Linked DNA regions of Homo sapiens: region 2 is linked to region 1. The links are contacts of gene promoters, found by promoter capture Hi-C in blood cells and fetal thymus (Javierre and others, 2016). All regions are on one chromosome and are shown on one strand. Each heading gives the region's core, a stretch centred on a gene start or on the middle of the fragment in contact. The rest is flanking DNA. Distances are from core to core; before and after follow the strand shown. Region 1 holds the start of SCG3 (secretogranin III). Region 2 overlaps LYSMD2 (LysM domain containing 2).

Region 1 (5,451 bases), core at 1,776-4,275:
TTGGCTCACTGCAGCCCTTGTCTCCTGGGTTCAAGTGATTCTCCTGCCTCAGCCTCCCAAGTAGCTGTGACTACAGGTGCCCACCACCACTCCTGGCTAATTTTTGTATTTTTAGTAGAGATGGGGTTTCACCATGTTGGCCAGGTTGGTCTTGAACTCCTGACTTCGGGTAAGGAAACTACCACATTGGCTGCCAAATGAAGAATGAGTTGGGGAGAGGCGGAGTGGTTGCTGGGAGAACTGTAGATTTTGCTATAGTTTACATGAGACATAATTGGAGCTTGGACAAGGATTGGAGTTTGGACAAGTACAGAGAAAAACAATTGAGAGATACACAGACATAAAATTAGTAAGTTTTGGCAGATTAGAATTTGAGAGGTGAGGGAAAAGATAAATAGTTTGATCCTAGATTTCTGTCTTTAAAAAACTGGATGGATAGTAGTGCCTTTCCTAAAGAAACAGTACTCTAAGAGGTCTAGGTTGTGAAGTGGACACAGATTATGAGTTTAATCATGGGCATGCTAAATTTGAGGTGCTTCTGACACTGCCAAGGGAAAATGTCGAATAGGTAAACAGATAAATAGGTCTATAGCTAAGAGAAGTCTGGCCTAGTGATATGGGATGTTAGGATATAGATGTAATTGAAGCCACGTAAAGGTTAGGATGACCTAAGGAGAAAAGATATGGCTAGGAGGAAACACTGAAAAGGAAATAGTGGATATTTCACCTTTTTTGTGCAGGGTGGGAGGGTACTTTACTGATCTAATTATTTGAAAATTATGATATTTTGTGTGTACTCATTGTTAAAATAAATCTGAATGTTCAAATGAATTTAATACCATAAAATACAAATACTAGATTAAAAAATGTTTTCAGAGCATCACTAAAGGAATTTTTAAAGGGAAAATAAAATATGGCACTCTGTGGAGCTGGGGCTCTACATGTTATCAGTAAATATATGCTTTATCTCAATTTTGGACTTGACTAATAAAGGATTATGAATGTTTAAAAGATATTTTTAAAATATTGGACTTTCTCTTAACCCATTATAGGAAACTCCACGTTAACAAAAAGTTCTTTTTTTCTCATTTACCTTGAAATTTATGATCCAATCCACTCTTAGTAGAGTCATAATCATCGATCAGTTTTCGATTCTTGGTTGAATCAACATCTTCCACATTCAACTTATTATCAAGTGGGGAGCTTCTTATAGATTGTCTTTCTTTCTCAATTTTTTCCTTTTCTGTTATTGCCTTTAGCAGGTTCAAGTTATCAACAAAAGAATAGTTGCTCTGACCTGGCTTGTTTTCTGGAAGAATAGCCCCAAACCCAACACAGCCATTTTAGTTCAGATTCTCATAGCCTACATTATTTAAATTAACATCAATATGATTTCTTTTTACCTGGAGGATATGTTTTTTTAATCTTGTCTTCTTCTGCTTCAGCAATCTGTGAAGCAAACAGGAGATAGACTTGGTTTAAAATCATTGCTCCACTACTTACCAAGTACAAGAGCCAAATGATTTAATCTCCATGGGATTTAATTGTCTTGTTTGTAAAATGTGGATAATTCCTATTTCAGAGCACTGTTATAATAATTAAATGAGATAAAATTAAGGGTAGATGCTCAGTCAGTGTTAATTTCTTTCTCCTATAATATTGTTGAAAGAGAAATCTCTGGTAAATTAGGCAATCTTACAACAGAGTGGATGTGATGCTGAGCTTACTGGGTTATTATATAGTTACTCTATGTATTCATTATACAGAACTCAATGTAAATAACTGCTAGGGCATAGAATTTACCAAAACTAGATTTCCCGTCCTAATTTCTGTCAATTAACTATTAAGTTCCTGATGTTTGTAAATTCAAAATGACCAAAATGTCACAGCATAATTACATTAAATAATAATAACTAAATCAAAATGAAATAGCATTCATAATGTTACTTTTGACCTACCTGTTCATTCAAAGGTCTTTCTGCACTTAATTCTCTATTATGTAGAGATTTGTCTAGAATAAACACATGTGAATATAAATTTAATTGTGCGTTGAAGGACAAAATATGCCTCTTATTAAATAAAATTTTTATAAAAAGGAAAAATATTAGGAGAAATAATTTTGGATGACTATGAAACAAATGCATATTAACAAAGATTATCAAGATTATACAATAATAGTAATTATCAATATTGCCTTGTTTATTATCTTGGTGTATTTCTTGAGCTGACAGAATCACACTTTTTTTTTTTTCTGACCAGAAATTTAACATATAGTTCTAACACTAGGGTTATCAGCTATTCTCAGCTAGAGAGAGCATAATTTGGATTGGTATTATTGGCACACTAAAAGCTCTTTCATCATATACTGCATATATAATGAATAGACTGTCTGAGAAAGGTTGTAAGGCAACTAGAAAACAATCCAAGCCACTTTAGGTGAAAAAGGTTCCCTTCCCTTTTCAAAATAAGATCTTTAAAAACAACCCATATTATTGCTCTATCATTTTAAAAGTGAAGAAAAAAAATCTGTCTTCTGTCTCTAAATTCGAACTGATTTCTCTGTCCGTATTCATGGATATGATTTGATCAGAAAACGCGTCAGGGTGATTTACAGCTCACGTATTATGCCAAACTTTACCTTTTCGTGGCGAAATAAAAGGAAGGTAGGAAGAAGAAAAGTGTTCACATACCTTGGCTTCCTCCAGGTTTGGGGAAAGCTTGAATCGGGAGCACTAACACCAGAATCCAAGTGCCGGTCCCGAGGAACCCCATTCTTCCACGCTCGGCTTGGGTCACAGCCCGGCGCTGGGCTCCTGGAGCTGTAGCTTTTGTTATGAATGAAAAGGAGGAGTAAAAACAGGAAGAGCCAGGAGGGTGGGTGTGGGGCGGGAGAGGGGCCGGGACTGGGCGGCTGCAGGATCTCTGACACTCGACGGTCAAGGGATAAGCAGGGTTGGGGCGCGCGGGAGTCAAGTCTCCAGGTAGAGGGGAGCGCTGTCCGCCCTGTGGGTGCTGAAGTTCCTGTGACGCGGAGACTGCGCGCCAGGGCGTAGCTTTACTCTCGCTCCCTCCTGCAGAGGAAGTGAGGAAGGAAGCGCATGCTCCATGCACGCCAGAGGCGGGAGGGGATGGCGTCGGTGACTCCAACGCTACTCCAATCCCCCGGGAATGGAACAAAGGAGGGGCGACCGGCCAGCTGGTGTATTTTCTGTGCTGCAGTCCTAGGGTGCTCCTGGGCTCAGGGTCAGCTGGCTTGTCCTAAGCGTGACAGAATTGTCCCAACCTCTCAAGTAAATGTTACTTCAAGGGCCAAATGCCTTCTCTGCCTGTGCACCTGTCAAGGAGATTTAGATAACCTTGTGCGAGGAGTTCTGCTTCGGGATTCTTCTTTTGGGATATCTGCTCCAGAATCCCTTCCTTCCATTCACCTCCTGTACCCAAAAGGTAGATATAATTATAATCTCTTTAGAAAAGCCCTGCCTTTTGTGGTCTGTGTTGACGTATCAAGCATCCCTCAGCTCTACCGAGGCTTTTGAATTGGGAAATTCAAGGAACAGTCTTCCAAATAGTCAGATTGCTGCAATACACTCTCACTCTCTGATGCTGAAACACAACAACAACAGAAACAGTCCTGAGTAGACGAGCAGCAATGGCAAATTCTCCTTTCCCCACCAAGTGGAACCTCCCCCACTTTACACACACACACCACACAACTAAATTAGAAAAAAGAAGCTGCATTTCTGTAAAATCTTGCCCAGAATTTAATTATGCCCAAAGACCTGGCTGTTCCAGGGGGTCCTTCAAGAGAGGGGATAGTCATGAAAAGCATTTTTCATCTTTACTAAGTCAGGGAGGTGCTTCCTATGTTCTGAGAATATTCCCAGAAGCCTAAGGTTATTGTATACAAGGAACTATCAAAAGACTTTAAATGATGAAAACAAGCAACATTAATGTGAGCAGGATGCTGAGTAAGCTCTTTAGTCTCTGATTTTTAAACAGAACTTGGACCTTTTCCTCTGGACTGCGGCATGCTGGGAACCAGTCTGAATAATGACCAAAGAGAAGGATTCAGCACAATCAGGCCTTTGATTTCTGCACCCTCCTTTTCAAGGAGGAAGTTATTCAAGTACCTAAAAACAAACAAACAACCAAGCTGACAAACAAATCTCCCTTGCTCCGGAGGTTTTTGAGTTTGGAAGTCACTCAAATACTTCCTTTGAGGATCTAAAGAGTATTCTAAATCTAACAGCTCCTTCAAAACAAAAAACTCTTTATTGGCAGTAATAACATAGCATTATTATCCCAGTATACTGCATTAAAAAATTAAGTCATATTTTAAAATCCCAGCTGAATGAAGGGTATATTTCCTTAGTTTCCTTTTCTTTATGATGGAAATGACAGGCTCTGTTTACCTCACACTGTTATTATGAAGATCAAATGGGTACATGTTTTGAACTAGTCATTTTGATACCAAGAATATTTTGATACAGCCTAAGAAAATAAGTCATGAAACGTTTTCAGCTTTTATGAAACATTACCCAACGCTATCTGAAATAGCCATTCACTGATCCTGAGACTCACTGACCTAATCCCTCAGCTTCACTTTGTCCTTTGTCCCATTCCTGACTCATTTATCTCCTCAATACATGTTTGCAATTGGGAGAGATTCAGGATGGGATGAAGGTCAGGGATGTCTGTTGAGTACATTGCATTGCTTGCCCAAAAGAAAAAGGGTATTTTGTCTCTTTCTGCCATTTGGACTTAAAGTGATTATGTTAAATGGACACTAAATCTAGGATCATGTTATGTTTCTGATCAAATGAGTGGTGGAGCATTGAGTAAAACATAGGCATGAATTAGTTTACATTATTCAGCCTTATGGATGATACCACTGGACTTAGTATAGGTCTGTGAATGGAGTAATCCTAAATTGTATTTATTCATCAATTCACTTAACAGGTGTTTATTGAGCATCTGAAATGTACCAGGTATTGAGATAGTTGCTGGGTGTACAAAGACAAGTAAGACACTAGTCACTGCTAGTCCTATAGCCTAGTAGAGAGAAAATATTGTGAATATAACAACAACTATTTGGTGAACAGGTTTCACATGCAACACACTATTCTTATTGAAATATAAGTGAATGAATAAGTACAAGAGAGTGTTATGTGTCCTTTTTGTATTTGCAAAGCTCAAGTAGAGTCTGTCCAAATAATGGAATGAATGGTCAGGAAAGATTTCAAAGAGAAGACAGCCCTTTTATTAATAATAAAAAGATTAAAATATTTGATTCTTATGTGTGAGAACACTATAAACATGGAATAATATGAAAATATATGTTGAAATTACAAGACAAATAACATTGACACAGATCAGATAATTATTAAATCAACAATGTACAATGCACAGTGAGTTTGTCAATGCTGCTTGTTCATTTGTCAACACAAATGG
Region 2 (5,451 bases), core at 1,799-4,298, 45 kb before region 1:
CATCCCTAAGAAACAGAGGATAGTCCTGCATCAGTTTGAAAGGACACATTTTCTAGTCTCAGCATTAATTGGATCTTAGGAAGTGTTGAACAGAGGGTAGGTGGGAAAGCTATAGAGTTTTCCAGCTCTTCCTTGGATTGGATCATGACTTTTCTTAGCTTTATATGAAGTGAAATTGCCAGAACAGTAGACCCAGCTACGTTCAGACAGAAGTATAAAACATACCAAAGGAGGCCAGGTGCGGTGGCTCATGCCTGTAATCCCAATACTTTGGGAGACCGAGGCAGGTGGATCACAAGGTCAGGAGATCAAGACCATCCTGGCTAACACGGCGAAAGCCCGTCTCTACTAAAAATACAAACAATTAGCCAGGCATGGTGGCATGCACCTGTAATCCCAGCTACTTGGGAGGCTGAGGCAGTAGAATAGCTTAAACCCGGGAGGAAGAGGTTGCAGTGAGCCGAGATCGTGCCACTGCACTCCAGTCTGGGTGACAGAGCGAGACTGCATCTCAAAAACAATAAAAATAAATAAATAAAAACATACCAAAGCAAAAGAAAACATCGTTTCACCATTTTGTATTTTTCAGTTTGTTGTCTGTGCTATGGCAGGTGCCTCTTTCTTGCTAATCCATTTTCTGCACCCAGCTGCTGAAGCAATCTTTAACTGTGATCAGATCATGTCACTCCCTGCCTTCACTCTCCAGTGGCTTCTCATCACATTTAAAATAAATTCCAAATTCCTTAACTTGGCACCCAAGGCCCTGCCTGGTTGGAAGTTTGCTTATTACTCCCTACACTTTAGCCACATGATTTTTTTCCTGCCCCAGGGCATTTGCTACTCCTTTTTCTAGATGGAATGCTTTTATTCCTGGCGCTTTGCATGTCTGATTTCATATTTCATCATGGGTAACAGAGTTTAGAGCCTATGCATTTGGCCTAAGCCATAGCTTGTAAAGAACAGGTTAAGATTTTCATTACCTTTTGAAAAACCTATTCAAAGCCTTTTGTGACATCTCAAAGCAGTGATGATATATTATGGTATTCATCTGGGCTTATCCATGTGAGATTTTCCCTATATATTCTTACTTTGGGGGAGAAACAAATTTTTTTTTTTTTTTGAGATGGAGTCTCACTCTGTCACCCAGGGTGGAGTACAATGGCACAATCTCGGCTTACTGCAACCTCTGCCTCCCAGGTTCAAGCGATTCTTCTGCCTCAGCCTCCCTAGTAGCTGTGATTACAGGCACCTGCCATCATGCCTGGCTAATTTTTGTATTTTTAGTAAAGATGGGGTTTCACCATGTTGGCTAGGCTGGTCTTGAACTCCTGACCTCAGGTGATCCACCTGCCTCGGCCTCCCAAAGTGCTGGGATTACAGGAGTGAGCCACAGTGTCCCGCTGAGAAACAATATTTTATGGGAGAAAATTTCTACCTTCTTCCTTCTCATTTGCTGATTATACATTAGAATCTGCCCTTACCTGTTGCTTTCTTACTTTTCATTAAATTTAATGATAATAATTGCTGACACCTTTGAGTACTTCTTGTGTGCCATATGTGTGTGTGTGTGTGTGTGTGTGTGTGTGTGTGTGTTTTCTCCTGGAGTACAATGTTGTGATCTCGGCTCAGTGCAACCTCTGCCTCCCACCTTCAAGTGATTCTCATGCCTCAGGCTCCCGAGTAGCTGGAATTACAGACATGCGCCACCACGCCTGGCTAATTTTTGTATTTCTTTTTTTTAGTAGAAATGAGGTTTTGCTATGTTGGTCAGGCTGGTCTCAAACTCCTGACCTTGGCCTCCCAAAGTGCTGGGATTACAGGCATGAGCCACTGCGCCCAGCCCATATGTTGTTCTAAATACTTTACATGAATTAATTCATTATGATATATGGAGAGGAAGGAACTGTTACTATCCTTACTTTACTGATAAGTAAACCGACAGGGAATGGTTAGAAAGTGGGAAAGCCAGGATGTGAACTCAGAAAGTATGGCCCCTGAACCCATGCTTCTGAGTACTATGCTGTATTAAACTCAAGACTCAAATCTGCCCCTGTCCTTAGATTGGTTCCCACCTTGTTGCTAACTGTGTCTGAATATCCCTGGTGTTCTTGACTCTGTCATCTTGTGTGTCATCTTGTAGTCTAGACCATAAAGGTCCACATACATCTTAAATGCTTACTAATGACATTGAGATGAAGACAGTGGAGCCCCTGACTTTAGGAAGCTTGTGGACCAGTTATAGTGAGTCACTTGTGCAGCAGTATGTACAGAAGCCAGGGGGAGCCTAGCCCTTCACTGCCTGTGGACTCCCTGACTGCACACAGCCTCTGAGTCTGTCACCTTGTCTAGTCCTCTGTAGGCCCCTTGCCTGGCCTTGATGGCCCATTGTGCTCTGTATGATAGATGTATCTGTCAGCATTGCAGCAGAATACAGATAACACTCTCAGAGGATGTGGCCGAAGAGAGTTTAATAAAGGGACATTTACTGAATGTGGGCATAGTTGAGGGAACCAACAAGGGAAGTTGAAGCACCCAGAGACTAGCAATAGCAGGGAGACATTACCCCTAGGCCTGAAGGGCCAAGGGAACACTGGCAAGATCTGGAGCCTTGGATCTGGGACTCCTGATAGGAACTCTCACCAGAGAGGAATGCAGCCACTGGTTATGGTAAGGTCGTTCTGCTGCTGTTTGAAAACCAACTGGAATTCCAAGGACAAGGGGACCTGGGTAATGCCGTTCTTAAAAAGTCAGCCTCCTAGGGTTTAGAATAAGCCCAAGAAGAGTGGAGGAATGGATTGGGAGGGGAGAGTGGGTTTGAAAGGAGAATAAGCAGCACGACAGATAACTTACTACCCATTTCTGATTACTTCATCTTCCATGCCCACTCCTCTGACCTGCGTTAATTCATCCATCCATCCATCCTTCCATCCACCTGTCCATCCATCCTAAGCACTTAGTGTGTATGAGATCTTTGTCAGACCAGGAAGGCTATAGCAATAACCAGTTCTTGCCCTCAAAGAATTAATAGTGTACTCTTGCAGTTCCTAGCTCTGCTCAGCAGTTTGGATCCTGGTCCCATCTGTTTCTGTCTTCCATCATTATTCCCAGGAAGCAATGACTATTAGCAGTCGTAGTCCCCTTCTGATAAGCATTTCAAAGGGCACTGTATCAGCAAGAGCTCTTTCAGCTACAAGTGACAGAAAACCTAACTCAAATTGGCCTAAACAAAAAACAAACTCCAAGTGGAGTTTAGTGGATCTTGGAACTGAGCATGTTCTGTCTTCAGGCTGTGATCCAGAAGTTCAAATGCTCACCTCTAAGGTGACTCCAGTATCAGATTCCACAAGGTGCCAGGATGACTGCCAGCATCTCCAGCCTATCTCCTTCCAGCAGAAAGCAGTAGAGAACTCTCCCCTCGACTACCGTCCTGCAGGAGTCTCTTTGCATGTCTGAATGATTCTGTCATGGGTCTGTGATCTATCACAAAAGCCTGTGATGCTCCCCAGGGCAGGAATGAGTCATATGCTCACTCTGGAGCCAGGGGAGGGCTTAGTGTCATTGGAAGCCTATGCACTAAGAGAGATAGAGCAGCTGGATGCTTGGGGGCAAGATCTAGGGGTCCTAAAGGCGAAATAGCAATAGGTATACCTGAACCTGCTACGGGCAAAGTGTCCAAGTTATTAACCCTTTCAAACCTGAACTAGACCAGAGATACTTGGGGTTTTTAGATTTTAATTTTGTCTCTAAAAGGCACCTGCCCATGTTTATGTTCTCTTTCTCCCCTTAAACTAGAAACGAGAACACAAAAGACCATCCTTTTTAAAAATCTCATTCCTTTAATGGAGTATCTTTAGAAGAAAAAAGAAAGCTTTACATGTACTATTTGCATGGAATCAGCTTATAACAAAGCAGGATGAACAGGGTCCACTTAGTTGACTGTTGTTTTTGCAGGCTTTTTGAAGTAGAAATACAATTTTTTTGTTTTTACTCAGAATTCATTTGGCATTAAAGGCTCCCCATAATGTGATTTCATTAGTTGTGTACTTTAATTCAGATGTTGTACGGACTTCGGAGTCAGACAAAAATCCCATTTTAAACATTTAAAGAGCCATATGTACTTGGTCAAATCTACCATCTCTTTTGTGTTTTGATTTCTTCATCGCAAAGTGGAGAGTAGTAAGTACCATCCACTGCCAGACACTCTAATCACTACTTTCTCTCTCTCTTTCCATATAGATATATATGGGAATATATGTATAGAATGTACATATATTTTTATATATTCTCTCATATATATATATTTCCTTGATGTGAGTGGGTATATAAGCTCTCATTTAATCCTTGCAACAACCCTGTGAAAGGTAGATGGTACCTGTTTTACACATGAGGAGAAAGGATCAATGATATAAGTAACAAGCTCATGTTCATACAGTAACTGTATTTACTAAGTACAGTTCTAGAGACATGGGAAGCACTTCATAAGTAAAACAGCAGCAATGGTAAGTTTAAAAAAAATCAGATAATAGAAATGTTAAAACAAGAATGGAATTTATTAAGTGCTAAAAATTTTACATTTTTAAACTTCAGAGATTTAAGTCCACTGATGTTAAAAGCTGCCTTGTAGTAGAAATAGTATAATGTGGAAAAATTAGTCTGTCCTTTTTAAAAATTGGGAAACAATTCTCCAACATCTCTTGAAATAACTAGAGATATCTGGGGAGGTTACCAAACCTGAATGAAGAGTCTCAAATCCCAAGAAAGCATTGTGTACATTTTGCTTATGAATATTGGTAGTTCTGTATTGTATAATAAATCTTACTCCTTGACTTGGTTATATGTAATTCTGTGTCTCCTTTTTTATATTTTAGATGGAACAGATTAAAAGGGCCAATAAACTGTTTACCAATGATTGTATATTTCTGAAGAAAACTTTGAACATCCCAGTTATATCAGAGAAGCCTTTGTTGTTTAATGGACTTAACTCCATTGATTCTCCAGAAAATGAAACTGCTGATAACAGTTTTTCTCAGGAAGAGGAGCCAGTGGTGGCCGGGGAAGACCTCCCTCCTCCCAGTCCTCAAGAATCTGATGTTCAGCCTGTGCAGCCTGAGGAAGTGTCAGCCAGAGATTTCCTGCAGAGACTTGACTTGCAGATTAAGTTATCAACACAGGCAGCCAAGAAGCTAAAAGAAGAGAGCAGGTAAGAATACCCTGGTACAAATGTCAAAGTCTAAATAAATCACTATTAAGATGTCCTTGCTGGGCCAAATCTTTCTTTTCTCTTTTCTTTGCCTTTTCTTTTCTTTTCTTTCTTTCTGATTTTTTTTCTTTTTTTCTTAATTTCTTTCTTTCTTAATTTCTTCCTTTCTTAATTTCTTTCTTTCTTTCTTTTTTTGCTTTAAAAACTGCATTTTAGTTCTAGAAAGGCATTTTTAGTATATAAACTCTAAA

Evidence for each region. Contacts are between HindIII fragments. The CHiCAGO score rates a contact against its expected background, and 5 or more counts as called.
Region 2: a contact is called between a fragment that was not itself captured here and the fragment with the promoter of SCG3 in region 1, in 1 of 17 cell types (M1 macrophages). The highest score is 5.8, in M1 macrophages.

Annotation. Positions count from the first base shown.
Region 1 is chr15:51,679,077-51,684,527 of GRCh38, reverse strand. It overlaps SCG3 (secretogranin III), which reads right to left and starts at 3,025. Exons shown (of 12, transcript NM_013243.4): 1 at 2,691-3,025; 2 at 1,959-2,011; 3 at 1,404-1,449; 4 at 1,094-1,309. The coding sequence starts at 2,772. The HindIII fragment of the contact is 6,229 bases long and covers 2,720-5,451 here.
Region 2 is chr15:51,724,539-51,729,989 of GRCh38, reverse strand. It overlaps LYSMD2 (LysM domain containing 2), which reads left to right. Exons shown (of 3, transcript NM_153374.3): 2 at 4,869-5,200. Among named protein-coding and RNA genes, the nearest start is that of LYSMD2, 10 kb to the left of the region's middle. RefSeq lists a silencer at 3,518-3,577. The HindIII fragment of the contact is 1,644 bases long and covers 2,227-3,870 here.